Regions from separate parts of the Homo sapiens genome. Here regions 1, 2, 3, 4, 6 and 7 are each linked to region 5. Evidence: promoter capture Hi-C in 16 types of primary human blood cells and fetal thymus (Javierre and others, 2016). All regions are on one chromosome and are shown on one strand. Each heading gives the region's core, a stretch centred on a gene start or on the middle of the fragment in contact. The rest is flanking DNA. Distances are from core to core; before and after follow the strand shown. Region 1 overlaps NUMA1 (nuclear mitotic apparatus protein 1). Region 2 has its middle 43 kb from the start of CLPB. Region 3 has its middle 26 kb from the start of CLPB. Region 4 overlaps RNF121 (ring finger protein 121). Region 5 holds the start of PHOX2A (paired like homeobox 2A). Region 6 overlaps CLPB (ClpB family mitochondrial disaggregase). Region 7 overlaps CLPB (ClpB family mitochondrial disaggregase).

The links. The method cuts DNA at HindIII sites, captures the fragments that hold promoters and counts their contacts. A CHiCAGO score of 5 or more calls a contact.
Region 1: a fragment that was not itself captured here is called in contact with the fragment with the promoter of PHOX2A in region 5 in 2 of 17 cell types (M1 macrophages and M0 macrophages); the score reaches 5.4 in M1 macrophages.
Region 2: a contact is called between a fragment that was not itself captured here and the fragment with the promoter of PHOX2A in region 5, in 1 of 17 cell types (M0 macrophages). The highest score is 5.1, in M0 macrophages.
Region 3: a contact is called between a fragment that was not itself captured here and the fragment with the promoter of PHOX2A in region 5, in 3 of 17 cell types (M1 macrophages, M0 macrophages and M2 macrophages). The highest score is 8.0, in M1 macrophages.
Region 4: a fragment that was not itself captured here is called in contact with the fragment with the promoter of PHOX2A in region 5 in 2 of 17 cell types (megakaryocytes and erythroblasts); the score reaches 6.1 in megakaryocytes.
Region 6: a fragment that was not itself captured here is called in contact with the fragment with the promoter of PHOX2A in region 5 in 3 of 17 cell types (M1 macrophages, M0 macrophages and M2 macrophages); the score reaches 6.2 in M1 macrophages.
Region 7: a contact is called between a fragment that was not itself captured here and the fragment with the promoter of PHOX2A in region 5, in 6 of 17 cell types (M1 macrophages, M2 macrophages, M0 macrophages and 3 more). The highest score is 11.4, in M1 macrophages.

What each region holds. Positions count from the first base shown.
Region 1 is chr11:72,039,477-72,042,176 of GRCh38, reverse strand. The region is part of intron 2 of NUMA1 (nuclear mitotic apparatus protein 1); the gene reads left to right. Among named protein-coding and RNA genes, the nearest start is that of NUMA1-AS1, 27 kb to the right of the region's middle. RefSeq lists enhancers at 145-224, 315-364, 1-598, 599-1,384, 1,865-1,944. The HindIII fragment of the contact is 887 bases long and covers 1,002-1,888 here.
Region 2 is chr11:72,475,750-72,478,573 of GRCh38, reverse strand. It overlaps the pseudogene ART2BP. Among named protein-coding and RNA genes, the nearest start is that of CLPB, 43 kb to the right of the region's middle. The HindIII fragment of the contact is 3,151 bases long and covers 1-2,824 here.
Region 3 is chr11:72,458,891-72,461,590 of GRCh38, reverse strand. No RefSeq gene overlaps it. Among named protein-coding and RNA genes, the nearest start is that of CLPB, 26 kb to the right of the region's middle. The HindIII fragment of the contact is 9,489 bases long and covers 1-2,700 here.
Region 4 is chr11:71,991,722-71,994,421 of GRCh38, reverse strand. All of the region lies in intron 6 of RNF121 (ring finger protein 121), which reads right to left. Among named protein-coding and RNA genes, the nearest start is that of IL18BP, 5.8 kb to the left of the region's middle. RefSeq lists an enhancer at 2,626-2,685. The HindIII fragment of the contact is 1,494 bases long and covers 601-2,094 here.
Region 5 is chr11:72,242,847-72,245,546 of GRCh38, reverse strand. PHOX2A (paired like homeobox 2A) reads left to right here and starts at 1,371. Exons shown (of 3, transcript NM_005169.4): 1 at 1,371-1,759. The coding sequence starts at 1,543. The HindIII fragment of the contact is 4,541 bases long and covers 1-2,217 here.
Region 6 is chr11:72,373,802-72,376,501 of GRCh38, reverse strand. All of the region lies in intron 4 of CLPB (ClpB family mitochondrial disaggregase), which reads left to right. Among named protein-coding and RNA genes, the nearest start is that of CLPB, 59 kb to the left of the region's middle. The HindIII fragment of the contact is 5,465 bases long and covers 1-2,700 here.
Region 7 is chr11:72,395,068-72,397,878 of GRCh38, reverse strand. The region is part of intron 3 of CLPB (ClpB family mitochondrial disaggregase); the gene reads left to right. Among named protein-coding and RNA genes, the nearest start is that of CLPB, 38 kb to the left of the region's middle. The HindIII fragment of the contact is 4,933 bases long and covers 1-2,811 here.

The DNA of each region.
Region 1 (2,700 bases), core at 196-2,695, 200 kb after region 5:
ATGCTGTGATTTTGTCTTCTAAGAGTCAGACATCTTTTGTTTTCAGCCATGTAGGAGAAGCAGAGTCTACAAGTCCCCGTGCCTGCGTCTGTTAAGGGCTGCAGCCAGTGCCTGGCGTACTCGGTCTCGTGCCTTGGCCCCTCAGCCCCTCCCCATAAATGCTCAGCGGAACAGGGGATTAGGTTCTGGCAGCACAGCTGGGATTTTGGCGGCCATTCCACAGCCGACAATAGCACGCAGCACAGGACAGCGCAGGCCTGTACTCCAGGGCCAGAATCTGCCTGGGCTTCTTGTTTGGGTGGCGGAGGGGGAGGAGCGGGCACAGCACGGCATCCTGGCCTTGCCACGCAGAAGGTATGGGCTGGAGAGATTCCCTCGGGGAATGGATTTAGTGGGTGGCCGTGTCCCAGAGCAGGGCAGGCGGTGCCCATGGAAGGTGGCAGGGCGCTTTGTGTGTGAGTGGCATGGTTGTACTTAAAGACACAGCCTGCCCTGGGGCCGGCAGGAAGGTGCCCCCGATCAGAGGGCCTGCATGTTGCTTGTTCTTCAAAGCCTCTGTTCCCGGGTCTTCCTCCTTGCCCTGCGGTCCGCCAGGCAGGGGCTGATCTAATTATCAGGACAGCCCTTGTCCTACCCTTCCATTGCTGTCCAGAGAGATGGACAGATTATTACTGCTGCCTTAAACTCTGGGTGGAAAACAGAGCGAAGGGGGAGTGTCCGGTTGATCCCAGTTTGTCAGGCAGGCCACTGTAAGATGTGTTTTGTGTGTTTATGCCACAGTTTGCCTTGGCTCTTGCTGCTGTTGGAGTTCAGTAATTTTGCCTGCCTGCTTGTGCCTTCACCCTCAACCCGCCGCCCCCATTCGTCCTGCTTTTCTTGTTCGTGGACCAAGCCTCCAGCCTTCCCCTTTGCAGCCCCTCCTCTCCAGTGCACCCCCTCCCTCTGGGCCCCACCCCCACTGAGAGTCCCCTGCTTGCTGTCGCTCCCAGATCGGGGAAGCTTGCTGTGCCTTTAAAGAAAGCAGACTCCTGGCTGTGACGCACTTCTGGCTGTCAGCCAGGAAGATCGCTCCTGCCAGGCAGACTGAGAAGAAAACCAACAACTTTTCTTTTGTGTGTGGGGTTACTTTCCACTGGCCCCCCCTTCCTCCTCTCCTTTCAAGATTTAAATGCTAATGGCGGATTAAAACCTGTAGATACGTTTGGCTTTAGGAGTCTGGTAAGGCCCCCCCGCACCGAGACTTTTTCTCCCTCACTCTTTCTCTGGGTTTTTGTTCAAACATGGACGAGGGGGTGGGGTGGATTCTCCCCCCTCACCTCCCTTTCCTGCGCCATCCTTAAAGGGGAGGGAGAGAAGAGGGAGAGCAAGTAAACATACTCAGAAACAGGCGCTGTGGAGCAGAGCTTGCCAACATCCGGGAGTTGGCGCCTTTCAGAGCAAAGGGTTGCTTTCTTTCCCCCTTGCGTAGATGTCAGCATGTTTTTGTTCAGAGAAGGAAAGCGTGTTTGCCTGCACGTTGAGCTGTAGAGACAGCTCAGGAGAGGGCTTCACCATTTCTGCGTGAGGCCGTGGGTGTGTGCACGGTGGTGGGCAGTGAAAAAAGGTTCATTTTGTCAGCTGATAGGGACCAGGGTGTGTGAATATAGTGGTGGGGGGCCCAGGTCAGTGTGTGTGTGTGTGTGTGTGTGTGTGTGTGTGTGTGTGTGTGTGTGTGTGTGTGTGTGTGTGTGTATGTGTACGCGCCCCAGTACAATACATGGCTGCAGGCCTGGTTGCAGGTCTGGTTCCTGATTGCAGCTCTTTTGCCATCATCCTGATCTGGACCCTCCAGAGAACGGGGAGAAGGGGCAGACATCTGTAAGCCACTTTTGAAGAAACCAGAGAAGCTTGGTTTCCTCTGTAATCCCTCCCTTGTTCCTCTCCAGGGCTTTGGGGTTCTGTGCCAAACTCTAGGCTACAAAGATGGAGTGGTCTGTGTGAAGAGGAGGCTTCAGCCCAAGCTAGTCCCTTTAGATGGACCAAACTGGTTTGCCCCGACCTCAGGAAACTCTTTGGACTTGGACCAGACGGTCTACCCAGGACTCCCCAGGAATTGAGAAAGATTGTTTTTCTCTGTATGGCGTCTCTTGGAGCCACTGGTCCTCTTGCCTTTTATCTTCTCAGAGGCAGGGGATGTACCAGCAAAGTATTTCCTATGCTGTTTTTATAGCTTATTAGCCTAGGGCAAGGTGGCTTGGCCCCTCTGGGTAACCTGCCAGGTGAGATCTCGGTGTTTGCTTGCATGTGCCTCCTGGCCTATCCGTCCTAGAGTTGGAGGAGGAGGAGCCCCAAGATCAGGGTTTTCACTCTTTGGATGTGAGTGTCTCTCAGATGGGGAGTATCTTTCTAAGAAAGGGGTACAGAGCATGGAATTCTTAGGCTACAGGCAGGCAGCGTCTCAGGGTAAGTGGTGGTAAATTTTGCAAGTGAGCACTGGCGCACAGATGGGGCAGCCATTTCCTTTGTGAGCTGTGAGGCTGTAGGCCTTTGGAACTATCAGGTGGAGAAGGGGGTGGGGTTCTGGGAAGGACCCTTTGAGGTGGGAGCTTGTGTGGGCTTTGGGCCCTGAAATTCTGGGAGTGGGAGTTAGCACTAAGAGAATGAGGGTTCAGCAGAAGCAAGGGCCCATGAGCTGAGAGATCGGTATAGTTTAACAACTCT
Region 2 (2,824 bases), core at 26-2,525, 230 kb before region 5:
AATCAATCCTCCTGCCTCAGTGTCCCATGTAGCTGAGACCACAGGCGTGCCACCACGCCCAGCTAATTTTTGTATTTTTGGTAGCAACGGGTTTTGCCATGTTGCCCAGGCTGGTCTTAAATCCGGAGCTCAAAGGATCCACCCACTTCAGCCTCTCAAAGTGCTGGGATTACAGGTGTGAGCCACCGTGCCTGGCTGAAAAATTGTGATTCTTATTTATAATCCACCATCTCTAACAGACCCTCATCATAGCTCCACTCCAGGGTCTTCTTGTTTTATAAAATATGAAGGAGTAGCTGTCAGTAGGATGAGGGTCCAGAGGTAGTAAATATTACCTGTACTATTAGCCACCAAATTGGAGTCAAAAGGTGATCTGTCATGTCTAAAATTGATGTCATCTAGTAGTTGAACAAAGACTTCACATAAGACCGTGAAAGTGAGGCCTGAGCACTAACTTCATTGTTGTTGCCTTATTTCTGTGCTAACGACCATCAACCACCAGTGTAGGGTCCAGAACTCCAGACTTGCATTTACGTCTGCATCCTGGACACCTTCCATCTTAGGTAAGTTCCAACAGAAAATTTCTCAATGGTGCGTGTTTTCCATTTCTTCCAGCATGGAGCTATTTTTATTAAACGATGGAATGTTATTATCATCTTTAAGTCTGCAGTCCTATATTCCACCGCCGTCTGACCTAATTCTGCCAGAATCTGGAGCACGGCAGAACCTGAGAATGGTCGACAGGGCCAGCAGGATAAGAGTGAGTATCTGTAGTAAGCCTCTTTGCTGTCTTTGAGTTCTCCTTGATCTGACTCCATTTTTAAATTTTTATTTTGTTATTTTTAGAGTCGGGGTCTTGCTCTGTCACCCAGACTGGAGTGCAGTGGTCCGATCATGGTTCACGGTAGCCTTGAACTCCTGGGCTCAAGCAATCCTCCCACCTCAGACTTCTGAGTAGCTGGAACTACAGGCACGCACCATCAAGCCTGGCTAAGTGGCTGGAATTTTTTTTTAAGAGAGATTTAAGCGAGGTGGGGTTTTGCTATGTTGCCCAAACTGGCCTCAATCTCCGGGCCTCAAGCAACCCGCCCTCCTTCAGCCTCTTCAGTTATTGGAATTAGAGGCGTGAGCCACCAAGCCCAGCTGTGACTCCATTTTTGAACTTCTTTTATTTGAGAAGTCTTCGTCATTTCAGAGAGTGATCATAAACTGAGCCTGTCCACTCCCCTGATACCTTTCCCATGTAACCCATAAAAAGGTTGAGTTTTCTGCTTTTATCCCTAGGCTAGACTAACCTTTCAAGGTCCTTCCCCAGACCAAAGGTTAGAAAAGAATTCCAACTTCTCACATTTCATGTTAAACCACATGTCCCTAGATTGTCAAGTCATACTTAAAATAAAATAACTGGGCCAGGTATGGTGGTCCATGCCTGTAATTTTAGCACTTTGGGAGGCTGAAGCAGGAGGATAGCTTGAGGCCAGGAGTTTGAGACCAGCCTGGGCAAGATGGCAAGACGCAGTCTCCACACACACAAAAAAAAGTTTAAAATAAAATAATTGATATACTGAAGATGACTAAAAATTAGAGTTTCTCCTTAATGTTTCTAGGAATTATGTTGTTCTAAAACATCCAGTAATTCACTTTCCCCTTAATAATTAGAATTAGTTATCCCAGCCGATAGAGTAACCCACATCTCTGCCTATTGGCTCAGCGGCATGAGGAAAACAAAATGGCAACTGAGCAGTCTTAGCTTCCAACTTAACGAGTCTGCAACTATGTTCCCTATTGGAAGCATTTTCTCCCTTAGCAACTAAGGCTTCTAAACCTGCAAGGAATAAGACAGTGGGGACAAGAAGCAAATATTCTTTAACTGGATTATTAGATGCATTCATGAGAGGGGCCTCTCTTACTCCACCCTCCTCCTTTCTATGCTTGTGTGTCCCTGCTGTAGAGAAAATAATGTCATATATTGGTTGCTGATGTAAAGAATGTACTGCTCTTCCATTTGTTAGGGTGCTGTATTTCTGCTGGCACCATAACTGACCTTCAGCAGGTCATTCTCTCAGTAACCATGACCTTCATAGGTGATTCTCTCAAGCCAGCTGTTTCTGGGTGATAACATATATCCTAAGGTTAACATAAATCTCATGGTATGAGCCTGTTGCCACACCTCTTCCACTATAAAATTAGCCTCTTGGTCAGATGTATGGGATACCATGTTGGTAAAGATGACATTCTTGGCTGGGTACAGTGGCTCCTGCCTGTAATCCCACGGCTGTGAGAGGCCTAGGCAGGAGGATTGCTTGAGGCAATCCACACGTGCTTTCCAGCTTTTCCAGCTTCAATGCTAGTCTCTACTCATTCTGACCACTAACCATGAAAAGAAAGGAGTTTGAACCAGCCTGGGCAACACAGCAAGATCCTGTCTCTATAAAAAATTTAAAAAGTTAGCCAGGCATTGTGGCATGTGCCTGTAGTCCCCGCTACTCTGGAGGCTAAGGTGGGAGAATATCTTGAGGCCAGGAGGGCTCATATTGGAAGCTACAGTGAGCTATGATTACAACATTTCACTCTAGCCTGGGTGATAGAGCAAAACCCTGTCTCAAAAAAAAAAAAAAAAAATGACATGGTTCTGGTAGAAGCATTAGGAACAAGGAAAAAAACTCTGGAAACATATCTATTCCCATGAGAGCACTTTCTGTCCTCAATGAAGGAAGGGTTCCTATTAAATCAGTTACCACCAGAGATTCCTGGCTAGTTTCTCTGGGGAATGGTGCCATACTGGGGACTCATCCTTGGCTTCTGCAGTTGGCAGCTGGGCACT
Region 3 (2,700 bases), core at 113-2,612, 220 kb before region 5:
TCCTGCATCAGCCTCCCGAGTAGCTGGGATTACAGGCACATGCCACCACGCCCAGCTATTTTTTGTATTTTTAGTAGAGACGGGGTTTCATTATGTTGTTCAGGATGGTCTCAATCTCTTGACCTCATGATCCACCCTCCTCGGCCTCCCAAAGTGTTGGGATTACAGGCGTGAGCCACCATGCACTGCTTTTTTGTTTTGTTTTGTTTTGTTTTGTTTGAGACAGAGTCTCGCTCTGTCACCCAGACTGGAGTGCAATGGCGTGATCTCGGCTCACTGCAACCTGTATCTCCACCTCCCAGGTTCAAGTGATTCTCTTGCCTCAGCATCCCAAGTAGCTGGGACTACAGGCTCACGCCAGCACAACCGGCTAATTTTTTTGTATTTTTAGTAGAGACAGGGCTTCACCATGTTGGCCAGGCTGGTCTCGAACTCCTGACCTCAGGGGATCCGCCTGCCTTGGCCTCTCAAAGTGCTGGGATTACAGGCGTGAGCCACCGCGCCTGGCCAAAAGTATTTTTTAAAGTAAGAGTGTACTTGTAGAAGGTGGGGGTATACTTGTAGAAAGTGAGGGTAATTTTGTGGATAAGGGCAATGCTATGGAAGATGGAAAATGTAAGTAAAAGGTGGAGAAATATTAGCTAGGCAATACTGAACAGAGAGGAAGTCTACTGTGATGGAAGAAGGGAAGATATCAAGATTAATTAATAGTAATAAAAAGCACAAAGCCAGTAAACTCAGGTTATTGTGTACAGGTCACCAAATCCTTCTGAAGAGTGGGCTCAAAGGAGGAGGGAGGTTTGCATATCTCTTGGAAGAAGTGGGAAACCGTCTGGGCTGGCAGTGTCAGGCTGAACGAGCTCAAACAAGTGCAAAGTCAGTTAAGGTAAAAGAAGGAGTTGGTGTCACAGCAAAAGAGAATAGGAGAAATGTCAAGAAATTAAAAATAGTCTCTTTTTCATAAGAAGATAGAGAATCAAAGAGTTATGTAAAATAGGTGAGGGAATGAAAAGAAAAATAGAAGAACATGAAAGTTTGTCTAAGTGTAATGGTGTCTTAGAAATAAGTAGACATGTACCAAGTGCAAGCAAAGAAGAACAGTCCCCTGCAAAACATACAACCAAAAGACAACGAAAAAGAAGACATCCCAGCCTAACTGAGTGAGACATCCTTCAGGGAGGAAGGAGGAGCTTGTGCATTCAGAACAGGACACATCCCCCATGCCTGCAGGACCCCCCCTCCTCTCTCAGCAAGGCTGAGTGGGAACCCCTGAATGGGCACACTCTGGACAAGAGCTCACACTCCCGCTTCCCTGAACACTTGCAGCTGCTCTGTCACTCTACCTGGGGACTGTCAGGATGAATCTTACTAGGCCCTTTAGTCTTGTGCTTGTAGCCACCGCATCATTCCTCATTCCCCACCTCTAATCCCCATTCAGCTTGTGCACTACCTTTCAACCCCATCTTCCATAGCTCCTCATCTCCTGAAACCTTTCCACCGTGCACTCTGGAGCTCAAAGTTATTCATCAGCAGAACATTCTGCACCCTAACTCTCTTTCCAAAATGTTCTCTTCATCCTCATGCTCTAAGGATACTTCTTTCTTTGCTGTCCTCTTCAGAGGTGGTTGCTTGCCCTCCCACAGCCCTTCTATTACTGGGCCTGGGGGGTAGTTAGATGTTCTCCTCGTTCCCCGTTGCTAATCCCAGATGCCCTCTCTTTCAGACTCAGTATCCACAATCCACAGTCCCTCTGTCTGCAGGCATCTCTGCCACCTTCCCCCATGCTTTGAAGAGTTTAGCTCCTGGATCATCCTCACCAACATTCCTAGAGATTTCCATACCCACATGGATGATTATTCCAGGAACCTGGACTCTAGATTCCATGATATTCTCTTCTCCAACGAACTGGTCATCCATTCTACCTAAGCGATTGTCTTCCATGGTCATATTTTAAGTCTTGTCATAACAATCACCTCAATCCCATCACTAGTTCAGTTTCAAATATCCCATGCTCTGAACACACCTCTTTCCTAGGCCAGGGTCCCTGGAACACAGAGTCAGCCTGAAGCAAAGCAAATGTGCTGATGCTTTACTGAGAAAGAAGCAAGAATGAGGGAAAGGAGCAGTCAGGCAGGAAAGTCAGGAGAGCAACCACAAAGTGTGCTGTAGAGCTGGCAACATCTTCCAAGAATATCCAACCGCGGGGCTCACAGGGCTCCTCCAGAGAGGCCAGAGGACCACGGCGTCTAAACCCAATTCAGCAGGGGCACGCAGAGGTTATTCAACTCCTTCTCAAGCCTTCTGGCATTCTTCTCCTTGGTCAAAATCATCCCCATGGAGCTTTAATTCCCTACGATTTGCAGGTTGTGTATTGACCACTCTGGGAAGTCACAGGGGAAGCCAGAGCCTCCATGGACCCAGTCAGGTGAGACGTGGTATCGAAGCTGCCACAGCTCCTATGGCAGTGGCTGTGACAGAAGCTGTGCTGAAGCCTTGTCCAACCCTGAGGTTCCGCTGAGGCAACCAGAGCCACGGCGATGACCACTGGAATGAAATGAGCCATCCCCAGGGCCAATCCAGCCAGAAAATAGGGCAAGAGGCTCAGGCCCTGGGGAAGAGGAGCGGAAAAGTCAGGCTCAACACATTTGGGGTGCAAAGAAACTGGATCTTGCACATCCATGCATTGCACCACATAGATCT
Region 4 (2,700 bases), core at 98-2,597, 250 kb after region 5:
GGGAGGGAGAAGGACTTGGGGCTGGTGATCAAAAGCTGTGTCAGGCAAGCCATTCTGTCGCCAGACTATGGTTCCACCAGAAATGGACAACAATATTCTCCAACATTTAAAACAGTGAAATATTAAGTGCCATGTTGGTTTGGTGACAAGGGCATTCTCAGACATTTGTGGCAGCAGCAAAAGGGGTTCAAGCCTTTCAGATAGGATTTAGCATGGTATCTCAAATTGTTGCACCTTTTGACCCATTAATTTCACTTCAAGGAATTTAAAGAAATAAGAGGAGGCTGGGCGCGGTGGCTGACGCCTGTAACCCCAGCACTTTGGGAGGCCAAGGAGGGCGGATCACGAGGTCAGGAGATCGAGAGCATCCTAACTAACACAGTGAAACCCCGTCTCTACTAAAAATACAAAAAATTAGCCAGGCATGGTGGGGGGCGCCTGTAGTCCCAGCTACTCAGGAGGCTGAGGCAGGAGAATGGCGTGAACCCGGGAGGCAGAGCTTGCAGTGAGCCGAGATCGCACCACTGCACTCCAGCCTGGGCAACAGACCGAGACTCCATCTCAAAAAAAAAAAAAAAAAGAGGAAGTGTCAAAGAAGCTTCATGAATACAGATATTCACTTAAGCATTATCATAATTAAGAAAGCAAAGAGTTTGGCATGTCCTCAAAAAGTTAAACATAAAATTACCAAATGACCAAGCAATTCCATTCTCGGTATAAACCCAAAAGATATGAAACTAGGGACTAAACACACTTAAACGCCAGTGCTCACAGCGTTACTCACAGTAGCCAAAAAGTGGAAACAACTCAAGTGCCTATCCACAGATGAATGAATAAACCAAATGCGGTGTCACACACAATGGAATACTATTCAGCCATATAAAGGAATGATACATTCTATACATGGATGAACTCTGAAAACACTACGCTAAGTGAAAAAAGCCAAAGGGACAAATATTGTATGATTCCATTTACATGAAATATCTACAATAGGCATGTTCACAGAGATGGAAAGTATATTAGAGGTAAACCAGGGCTGTGGGAAGGGGTAATGAGTTACTGCTTAATGGGCAGAGTTTCTGTTTGGGATGAAGAAAAATTTTGGAATTAGACAGTGAAAATGTTGCAGAACACTGCAAATGTAATTAATGCATGAATTGTATACTTCAAAATGGTCAAAATGGTGACATGGTCTAGAAATCTCTTCTGGGGAGTAAACTGGTTAAAGGAAGATCCAATGTCTACACAAATAGGTAAGAGGGAAATGAAGGTAAAGCACAAGACAGTTGTTCAAAAAGGAACCTAATAAACTGTCAATAAAGTGATCCAATGTACTGTTTTCAATTTGATCCAGTAGAGAAAAAATTAGAATATTCCCATGATACTGAGGGACAAAGTCCCTGGCCTTAAACGGTACTAGATTAAAGTTACCCAAGGTGATGGAAATATTCCTTCTTGGGGTGGGGTCTTGGGGGATGACACTGAGACAGGGAGCACTTCTGTGTTGTTTAAATAATTACAAAGAGAACATACTACTTTTATAAACAGCAAAACAATAAAGATATATTTCCATTCTGAAAAAAAAAATAGAAATATTTACTTGCGTTTCTCAGATTGGCTGTTAATTTACCCATATTTAAGCATCTCTCCGTGATGTCCACCTGCTGCTCTTGCAGCATTTCCTATCTCAGTGAAAGGTACTACCATCCAAGCAGTTGCCGAATCAGAAATCTCAGCTTTGAAACCTATATTTCCTTTGTATTTTTCCCTTCAGTCTTCAGAACCAAACTATATCTAAGTCCAAAATACTTCTCAAATACAGTATGTCCTCACTTCACTGACAGTTTCTTGGAAACTGTGACTTTAAATGAAACGACATATAACAAAACCAATTTTACCACAGGCTAATTGATAGAAACAAGAGTTCAGTTCCTGTGTCATATTTCTGTCACAAAGACATCACTAAACCTCTATTTAAGAGACACCAAATTGTCTCTTAAGTAAAGACTCAAAACACTTTTAATATTAAATGTTGAAATGAAATGTGTAGCTTTACACATACAGTTAAAGATTAACAAAGCAAGTATGAAAGCTTCCCCAATTTTTGGTAAAGCAGTAAGTGACAGTGGCTGTTGTTGTAGCGGCTGTGGGTTAAATCAAGGAATAAGAGTTCACAAAGTAAAAATTGTAAGGAGCAACTCCTACCACTGTGCAGTTCAAAAACAATTACCAATATGGACTAAGCACTTTTGTGCCCCATCATTTATTGTTGTGCCTTTGCATGATTATTATACATTTTGTGAATTTTTACTTATTTAGAGACAACGTCTTGCTCTGTTGCCCAGGCTGGAGTTTGGTGGCATGAACAAGCTCACTGCAAGGCTCAAGTGACTTCCCACCTTGGTCTCCAAAGTAGCTGGGACTACAGGCATGTGCCACCACGCCCGGCTAGGTTTTTTTTTTTTTTGTCTCATTTTTTTGTAGAGATGGGGTCTCACTATGGTGCTCAGGCTGGTCTTGAACTCCTGGGCTCAAGCAATCTGCCTGCCTCAGCCTCCCAAAGTGAGCCACTGTGCCCGGCCCCTCCCAGGATTTTTAGCATAAAAATCAAAATCTTTAATTTGGCCCACAGGCTTTTTTCTAGTCTAGTCACTACTTCTCCAGGCACTTCTTGGCCATACAACCGCAATGGTCTTAGTT
Region 5 (2,700 bases), core at 122-2,621:
GCACGAGGGAGCTGGTGACTGAATCTGTGCAGGGATGTCTGGGCCAGGTGCAGACTGAGTCTAGGTGGTTTCCCTGGAGAAAAAAAGCGGGGGGCCCTGGAGAACAGGGGTAAGAGACTGAAGAACAATAAAGAGGTCACGGGGTACGTTCCCTTTCTGACATCCATCGCATCCTGAGCCCAAGGTCACAGGAGAGGGTCGCATACTGCAGATGGAGCTGAGGGAACGGGGGGAGAGGCAGGCGGGCCCTGAAGGTGCAAGGTCGTGTGGGCCTCGGGACAAGTCAGGGTAGAGGGACCTGGCTCCCACGACCCTCCCTCTCCGCAGCCCCGTGGAGGCCGCACCCCAGAGCCTCCAGCATCATCCCTGGGCCCCTCTGCGCTCCAGCCCTCGTGTCTAAGCTCCCCGGAGGCGTTTTCTCTCCGCTCTCAGCCTCTGCTCCCGCGCTTGTGGCTGTCCCTGGCCCTGTCTCTCTCAGACTGTCCCTGGGCATATGTGTCTGTCTCACGATTCCTGCCTCTGTTTTGTCTCATCCCTCCCTTGCTCTCCACCGCAGTCCTGGTTGCCGTCCATGTCTCATCCCGACCCCTTCTGTCTCCATGCCTCCCTCACTCTCTTTCTCGTCCCCCTGTCTCCCTGTCTCCTCTTGTCTCTCTCTTAACCTCATCTCCTGTCTCTGCCCTGTCCCCGCTCCATCCTGTCTCTCTCTTACCCTCATCTCCTGTCTCTGCCCTGTCCCCGCTCCATCCTGTCTTTCGCTGTGTATGTTCCGTCCTTGTCTCCCTCTGTGTACCTGTATCTCTTGTCCCTGTCTCCATCACTGTTTCTGCCCCTTTCTCTCCCGGTCTCTGTTTCCTCTGTCTATCCACGTCCCTTCCCTGTCCCCATCCCAGGCTCCGTCTCTTCCCGGTCTCCATCCCCCTTCCTGGGCCGCCTCCGCAGTCTCCGCCGGGATGGGACCTCGCTGGGGGCGGGGCTGAGGGGCCAGATCGGAATAACTCGGTTATCAGAGCGAATTGAATTAACTTCTTCACACGAGCGCCGCCAGGCCTGCCTCCCCTCCCTTCCGCGGGGCCGCAGGTGGGGAGGCCCGGGAAAAGGGTCGGGACCCTCTGGCCTCGGACGCTGTGTAGAGACCGAAGGTCTGGTCCGGATTGGGGCAGGATAGGGACTCCGGGGATAGGGTCCCGCGCATCCCAGCTCCACACCTCTGAGCCCTAAGACGGCGGCGGGGACCCTTCGGGGTGGGGGTCGGGGCGGCTTTGGGCGGTGTCTGGGCCTCCTAGGCCCCGCCCCTTCGGAGCTCGCCCCGCCCCGCCCCCCTCCGCGGGGTCCTGCGCGTTAAAAGGCGCGCGGGCCGGGCTGGCTGCACTTGCGTTGCACCCGGGCTGAGTGCGGCCGCGACGGGGCGGGCGGACTCTCGGGCGCTCAGAGCTGGCCTCGGGTCCTCGGAGCCTGGCGCTCGAACCTCCCTTCCGACCTCCACCCGGACCCCGACCCCGACCCGGCCTGGCCCGGCCCCCGCCCCCGCCCCCCGGGCCGATGGACTACTCCTACCTCAATTCGTACGACTCGTGCGTGGCGGCCATGGAGGCGTCCGCCTACGGCGACTTTGGCGCCTGCAGCCAGCCCGGCGGCTTCCAATACAGCCCCCTGCGGCCCGCTTTCCCCGCGGCAGGGCCGCCCTGCCCCGCGCTCGGCTCCTCCAACTGCGCACTTGGCGCCCTACGCGACCACCAGCCCGCGCCCTACTCGGCAGGTGAGCGCAGCCCCGGCCCAACCCTCCCTCCAATTCCTGCAGAATCCCTGGGCCCGCTCGCCAAGTGAATGCGACTGTCCCCCTCAGCCGCCCCCATTCCTGCCTTGGCCAGACCCTCCAATGCCCCGAGAGACCCCCAGAATACGAGGTTCTCCTCCGCAGGAATGAGCCTCACCCTCTCATCTCTCCTGTTCCTTTTTCTCGTTGCCAAATCTCTGTCTCGTGCCCTTCAGGTCAAGGAAATATATCCCCATCCAGCTCTGGGCCCCTTACCAGGCCTTCCCCTCACCACCTGCAAAGACTGACCACTAAACCTCTACAAGCGCTGGATCTTTGAAAAAGGCTCCCAGCCCAGCCCTATCACCACTTATCACCCCACCCCATCACCGCTGCCCCACGAGATGCATGACCCCCAGCAAGGACCTCTCCAGGCAGCTGAGCTGCCCAGACGGGAAGCTTCCTAGAGCTCGCGTGGCCATCAGGCCCCTCCTGCCCTGTCTTGGACCCACGCTGCCTGGGACCGAACCCTTCTGTAGCCACCAAAACCAGATCCCGTAGCCCGCAATAAAGGGGCCCGGGTTTTTAAGCCACTTGTATTTCCCCATTCCCCCAGACTCTCCCAGCTAGAGTTCTGTAGAACCCGGAAGCAGCTCCTGCATCCCCAAGACTTTAGATCCAAGTCCCTGTCCAAACCCTCAACCTCACTGAGCTTCTCAGTCATCTCAGCCCTCTGATTAGAGTCCCAGCCTGCCCTATGTAATCTTATCGCCTTCCCTCCTGGGAAGACTGCCGGGGACCCAAGTAGAAGACTGGGGCCTAAGGGCCAGGCGCGGTGGCTCATGCCTGTAATCCCAGCACTTTGGGAGGCCAAGGCGGGTGGATCACTTGAGGTCAAGAGTTCAAGACCAGCCTAACCAACATGGTGAAACCCCATCTCCATT
Region 6 (2,700 bases), core at 34-2,533, 130 kb before region 5:
GGTGTATCAGTTTGGATGTGCTCTGCTGTCCAACTTGGTGCACTGAACGTTCCGACTTGGACCTGGATAGTGATAGTCTTTTAGAATCTTCTCAGGGCTCTTCTCTCTCATCAGCCTAAGCCTTTAGCTTCGTCTTAACCATGTCTTTCCTTTTTCCGTTTAAGGAAACCTCATTTTTTAAGCCATTCAACCAATATATATTGACTGCCAATTGTATGCAAGGCACCATACCCAGCTCTGACTCATTCTCATGGATGAAATAGAAACAAAAGAATCCTGTAGTTCTCTTATTTTTGTATTGCATTGACTTTTGCATGAAAAATTACCTGACTTGTAGGGATGGGTAAGGAAGGTAGAGTAAAACAAGAGATGTAATTCCCTTTCCTTCGAGTGTGTCTAGGCAAATTCACAGGAAGTTCACAAGCTCAGGAAAGTTGGGCAGTCCTTTGCTGTTATATTAGACTATGGAGTCACTGCCAAGTCCATGAAGTCCACTAAATTTCTAATAGATATTTCTGTGGCCCTTGGAAGGAAGGTGTAGTTTGTGGCTTTGGCAAGACCTCTCTAACCTCCAATGATACATTCCTTTTCTTCCGTATCAGTATTGTTGTGAATATCAAGAGATAAAATATGTGATATGTGGATTGTAAAGTGCTCTACAGTTGTAATTGCTTATTAGTTTCATTTATGCATAATTCAGCGTGTTCTTACCGAGTATCAGGCACTCTGCCAGTTGCTGGGATTATATAAATGATTATACATAGTCTAGCCCCTCATCAGTGCTCCCAGTCATTTACAGAGACAAGCCTGTAAACAAGGAATCACAACGCAGAGTGATAAATGCAATGGTAGCTGCACAAAGTATGTAGGCAGCACTGCTGTAAGTATTGGTGAGCTCTACCTGAGAAGTGAGCAGGCTGGTGTCTGGGAAGTGTCACAGGGTAAGTGACCTTGAATTGGGTCTTAAGGATGAGTTGGAGATTGCCAGGAAGGCTAAAAGGGATGGACCTTCCAGGCAGAGGGAACAGTCTATGCAGAGGCGTTGGGTGGGGGTTAGGGAGTGACAGCAGGTGGAACCATCTGCTGCAGGATTGAGGAGAATAACAAGAAATAAGGCCGGAGAGTGAAGAAGGCTACACATAGGAAGGACCTTGTAAGGCAGTTCTAGGGAGCTCATTCTCTATTCTGAAGGCCGTTAAAGGATTTTAAGCAGGGCAATGTCGAATTCACACTTGCATTTTAGATGGACCATTCTGACAGGGTGGAGGAGGAATTGGAGGGGAAAGATTAGCAATGGTTCTTGACTTTTTAGGGATAATGGACTCCTTTGGGAATCTGTAAGAAGCTATGCTCCTGTCCTCCAAAAAAACATTTAAAATATCTGGAGATTCCTAAAGGTGATCTTTGGGAATAGAGTAAATAGATATTAGCAGAATATTAGAAGATTGAGTACTCAGTGGATTGTGAGAATTGATGGAAAAGGAGGTATGCATGGTGACACCTCAGTTTCCAATTTGAGTGAATAGTTAGATATGTGGGTCTGGAGAGCTCAAAGGAGTAGTTTGGCAGGAGATAGGGATTTAGGAGTATTTTCCATTTCCTTGGGAGTTAAAACAATAGATGTAACCAAAATTGCCCAAAGAAAGGATTTAAAGTGAGGGGGTGGTAGGAGGACAAGTCCTTTACTCAGGATACCAGCATTTAAGGTGTGAGCAGGAAAAAGGATCCAGGCAAGAAAACTAAAAGGTATCAAAGATGCTTTGTATCTGTTTTACCTGCTGAGAACAGACACAGCCTAGGGAGGAAAGAAACTTCTTTGCCATCCTTGCTGAGACTTTATCTTTGGTTATGCCATTCCTAGTGACACTCTTCTCCCATGTCATGTGAGCATTTGCTCTTTAGCAAGAAGCCTACTTAGCTGGGTCCACTTTTGTCAAAGTTGGTGTTTCTGGGTAGAGGGCAGTCTTACTGGTTCAGGTAACCCAAGGATGCTTGGTATGGAAATCTTGTTGGCCTGATTGTTCTTTGCTTTCCCTCCAGCCCTCAGAGTGGCATCTTCAGAGGCACATTGGTGTCCTAGAGAAAGATTGGGCTTCAGTACCAGATATCTGAATGATTCATCTAAGCTCTATTACTAGATGTGTGATCTTGAGTAAATGACTTAAAGTCTCTGAATTTCAATTTTCTCATCTGTAACATAGTAAAAACAATACCCATCTTATAGGGTTGTTAGGATGATTAGAGATAATCATATATATTTAAAGCACAGTGACATTTAATAAAGAATTTCTCTATGGAGGTGGGTTTTGGCAAAGTGTAAAGCAGGAAGCCTGCCTAGGAGGTATTGAGCAACTCACCACTCAAGGGGTACTAACAGCTGAGATGTCTGCCCATCATGGATTCTGTAAAGGGGATTCTCGCCATGGGTCATTGGATTATCTGGCCTCCGGTGCCCCTGTCAGCCATGTGATTTCTAATGTTTAGAAGCTCTAGGCTCACTATCAGAGCAAGTAATGTTCTTTTTTTTTTTTTTTTTTTTTTGAGACAGAGTTTCGCTCTTGTTACCCAGACTGGAGTGCAATGACATGATCTCGGCTCACTGCAACCTCTGCCTCCTGGGTTCAGGCGATTCTCCTGCCTCAGCCTCCCAAGTAGCTGGGATTACTGGCGCCACCACCACGCCCGGCTAATTTTTATTTT
Region 7 (2,811 bases), core at 235-2,734, 150 kb before region 5:
AAGTTGTTCCTAGTCCCTTAATTAGAGTATATGTGCAGAGGATAGTGGTTTAGAAGAAAAATTGTAAGACTTAGATTCTTATAATTTCTAATTCATAAAAAAGGAGCTGTAAAAACATGTATCTTATAAAGCAGTAGTACCCAGAACATATAAAGAAGTCTTACAAATCAATAATAAAAAAAATCTAATTTTTTTAAATGGGCAAAATATTTTAGCAGATGCTTCATCGAAAAAGAGATGGGTGGCAAATAAGCACATGAAAACATACTCAGTGCAAATTCAAGTCACAATGAGATACCACTACATACCTGCTACAGTAGCTAAAATTTAGGAAAACTGACAATACTAAGGGCTGACAAGGATACAGAACAATATTGATACATCACTGATAGGAATGCATAATGGTATAGCCACATTGGAAAACACTTTGGCAGTTTCTTATAAAGGTAAAGTATACATTTACCATACCACAGAGCAATAGCAACTCCTAGGTATTTGTCTAAGAGAAATAAAAATGTACGTCTGCAAAAATACCTGTATGTAAATATTTATAGCAGCTTTATTCATGACCACCAAAAACTGGATATAATGCAATGTCCATCAACTGGTGAATGGACCAACAAATTGTGGTATATCCATACGGTAAAAACAGCCAAACAAACAATGACAACAACAAAAGCACCATGCTAAGCTAAAACCAACACAAAAAGCTACCTGCTCTGTAATTCCATGTATATGACATTCTGGAGAAGACAGAACTTTAGGGGCAGAAATCAGATTGGTGGTTGCCAGTGTTTGGGAATGGGAAGAGAATATAAAGGAACTTTTTGGGATGATGGAGAAATATTCTGTATCCTGATTATCATGCTGGTTACATGAATGTATATAATTATCAAAATTCATTAAATTATATATCTTAAAAAGGATGAATTTTACTCTGTGTAAATGTGATACTTCAGTAAACTGACTTTAAACACTTTTTAAAAAGCTGTCATCCCTCTCTAATTTTCATTATTAATTGTGACCAGTGGCATACTGAGAATTTGTATTAGTAGTATCAAAATTAATTCATATTGTTAATGGTCACCTGGAATGTTTTGAATTCTTATTGTTGATGATATCTCACATTAGAGTGATATGCATTCTGATTTTTAGTAGGGAATGAAGATTTGTCAATTCATACTATCAGTGATGTAATGAAGTATAATTACTGATGAATAGTGATAAATTCACTTTATGAGTAGTGTACAGTGGACTTGTATAAATTCATAAAGTATATGATTCTTCATTCCAGCAAGGAGAAAGTTGAGGTTACAGACTGGGAGCTTGCCTCTCCCACACTATTCTTGGGTTCCTTATCTCTGGACTCTCATGCAGGGACACCACCTATATAGTGAGGCCGTTGTGGTGCTTCAGGAACCAAAGATCCTGAAAAGGGAGGCTGGTGTGGGGAGATTTTGATTTCATCCTGCTTGGGCTTGGTGGTGGCTTTTGCAAGCCTTTGCCTCGGAGAAGGTGAGAACTGCAAGGCAGAGCATGAAGCACATCAGAACTGTTTGAAATTCCCCACAAGAGTCTCCCTCCCTCCTTCTGCCTTTTCTCCCCGAGTGCATTTCATCAGTGTCGGAAGGACTGGTTCCCGGCACTGCCTTCCCTGCTTGGCCAGGGTCCCCGAGGAACTGAGCTAATGAGTGGATAACACGCATTTGCCAAGGCCTTCCTGGATGTGGTACCCGGGCTTTGTTAATTTTAAAGTGCTGCCATCCTTGGCTGAAGACCATTCAATTCCCTCTCACAGCAGTCATTTATTTTTAGCATTTGCTTATTTTCCCTCTGCCTTACTAAGGGGAGAGGGTGCATTAAACCCTTTCTTTAAAAAACCGATAGCCTAAGCCAGATTGCTGTCCTACAGAAGAGGTTTTAAAGGCCTTCCTTTGTGGACCCCAACAGCTCCATGGGTGTTCTTAGAGCGAAGAGCAGATGCTAATCTTGCAGCTAGACTACTGGCAGCCTCCCTGGGAGGCTCTGCTTCCTTCCTGGCTAGCTATACGTGGAGCAGGTAGAGTACCAGTGTACCTGTGCTTGAAAGTAGGTCCTTAGGGAACCTGACCAACCACATGGAAGTCGGTCCTGCCTTAGGGGCACAGAGCCTTTTCCGTCTTCTAACCTATTCTTGGTCTGGCTTCGTGCTGTAGAGTAGGGCTACCTTCTGCCCAAGGAGGCTGGGCTTTGTGCTGTGTGATCTCCTGACTGTAGTAATGATGATGGCAGTAGTTGATTGGGTGCTTTCTGTGTGCCAGGCCCATGTCAAGCACTTCCCATGTTGGGTCTAATCCTCAGGGCAATCTTGAAAGGAAGGGATTATTATTCCTATTTTACAGATAGGGAAAATGAAGCTCAGAGTTGTCCAAGGTTGTCCAGCTAGTAAAAGAAGGAGCCAGGATTTGAAGCTGGGTCTTTCTGAACCCCAAACCCTTGCTCTTTCCACTGGACTACACTGCCTATGGAGGGAAGGGGCCGGGAGCAAGGCCATGGGATGGACCGAAGGATGCTGGAACCAGGAGTCAAGTCGGCTCTATCAGGGTTTCTTGATGACCCATGATGTATTATATGGATTTTGAGAACTGTAAAAACAGACAAGCCACTCTCCTTGTTCTCAGAAAGCTGACACTCAGAAAAGGGATAAAAGTCCCGCTTTGGAGAATGAGGCAGAATGTGTTCAGTGCCACAGAGAAGAACACATAGAGTGCTGTGGAGGAGATGATGCTGTGTAGAGCCAGCATCATGAAAAGAGGCCCTTTCAGAGGAGTT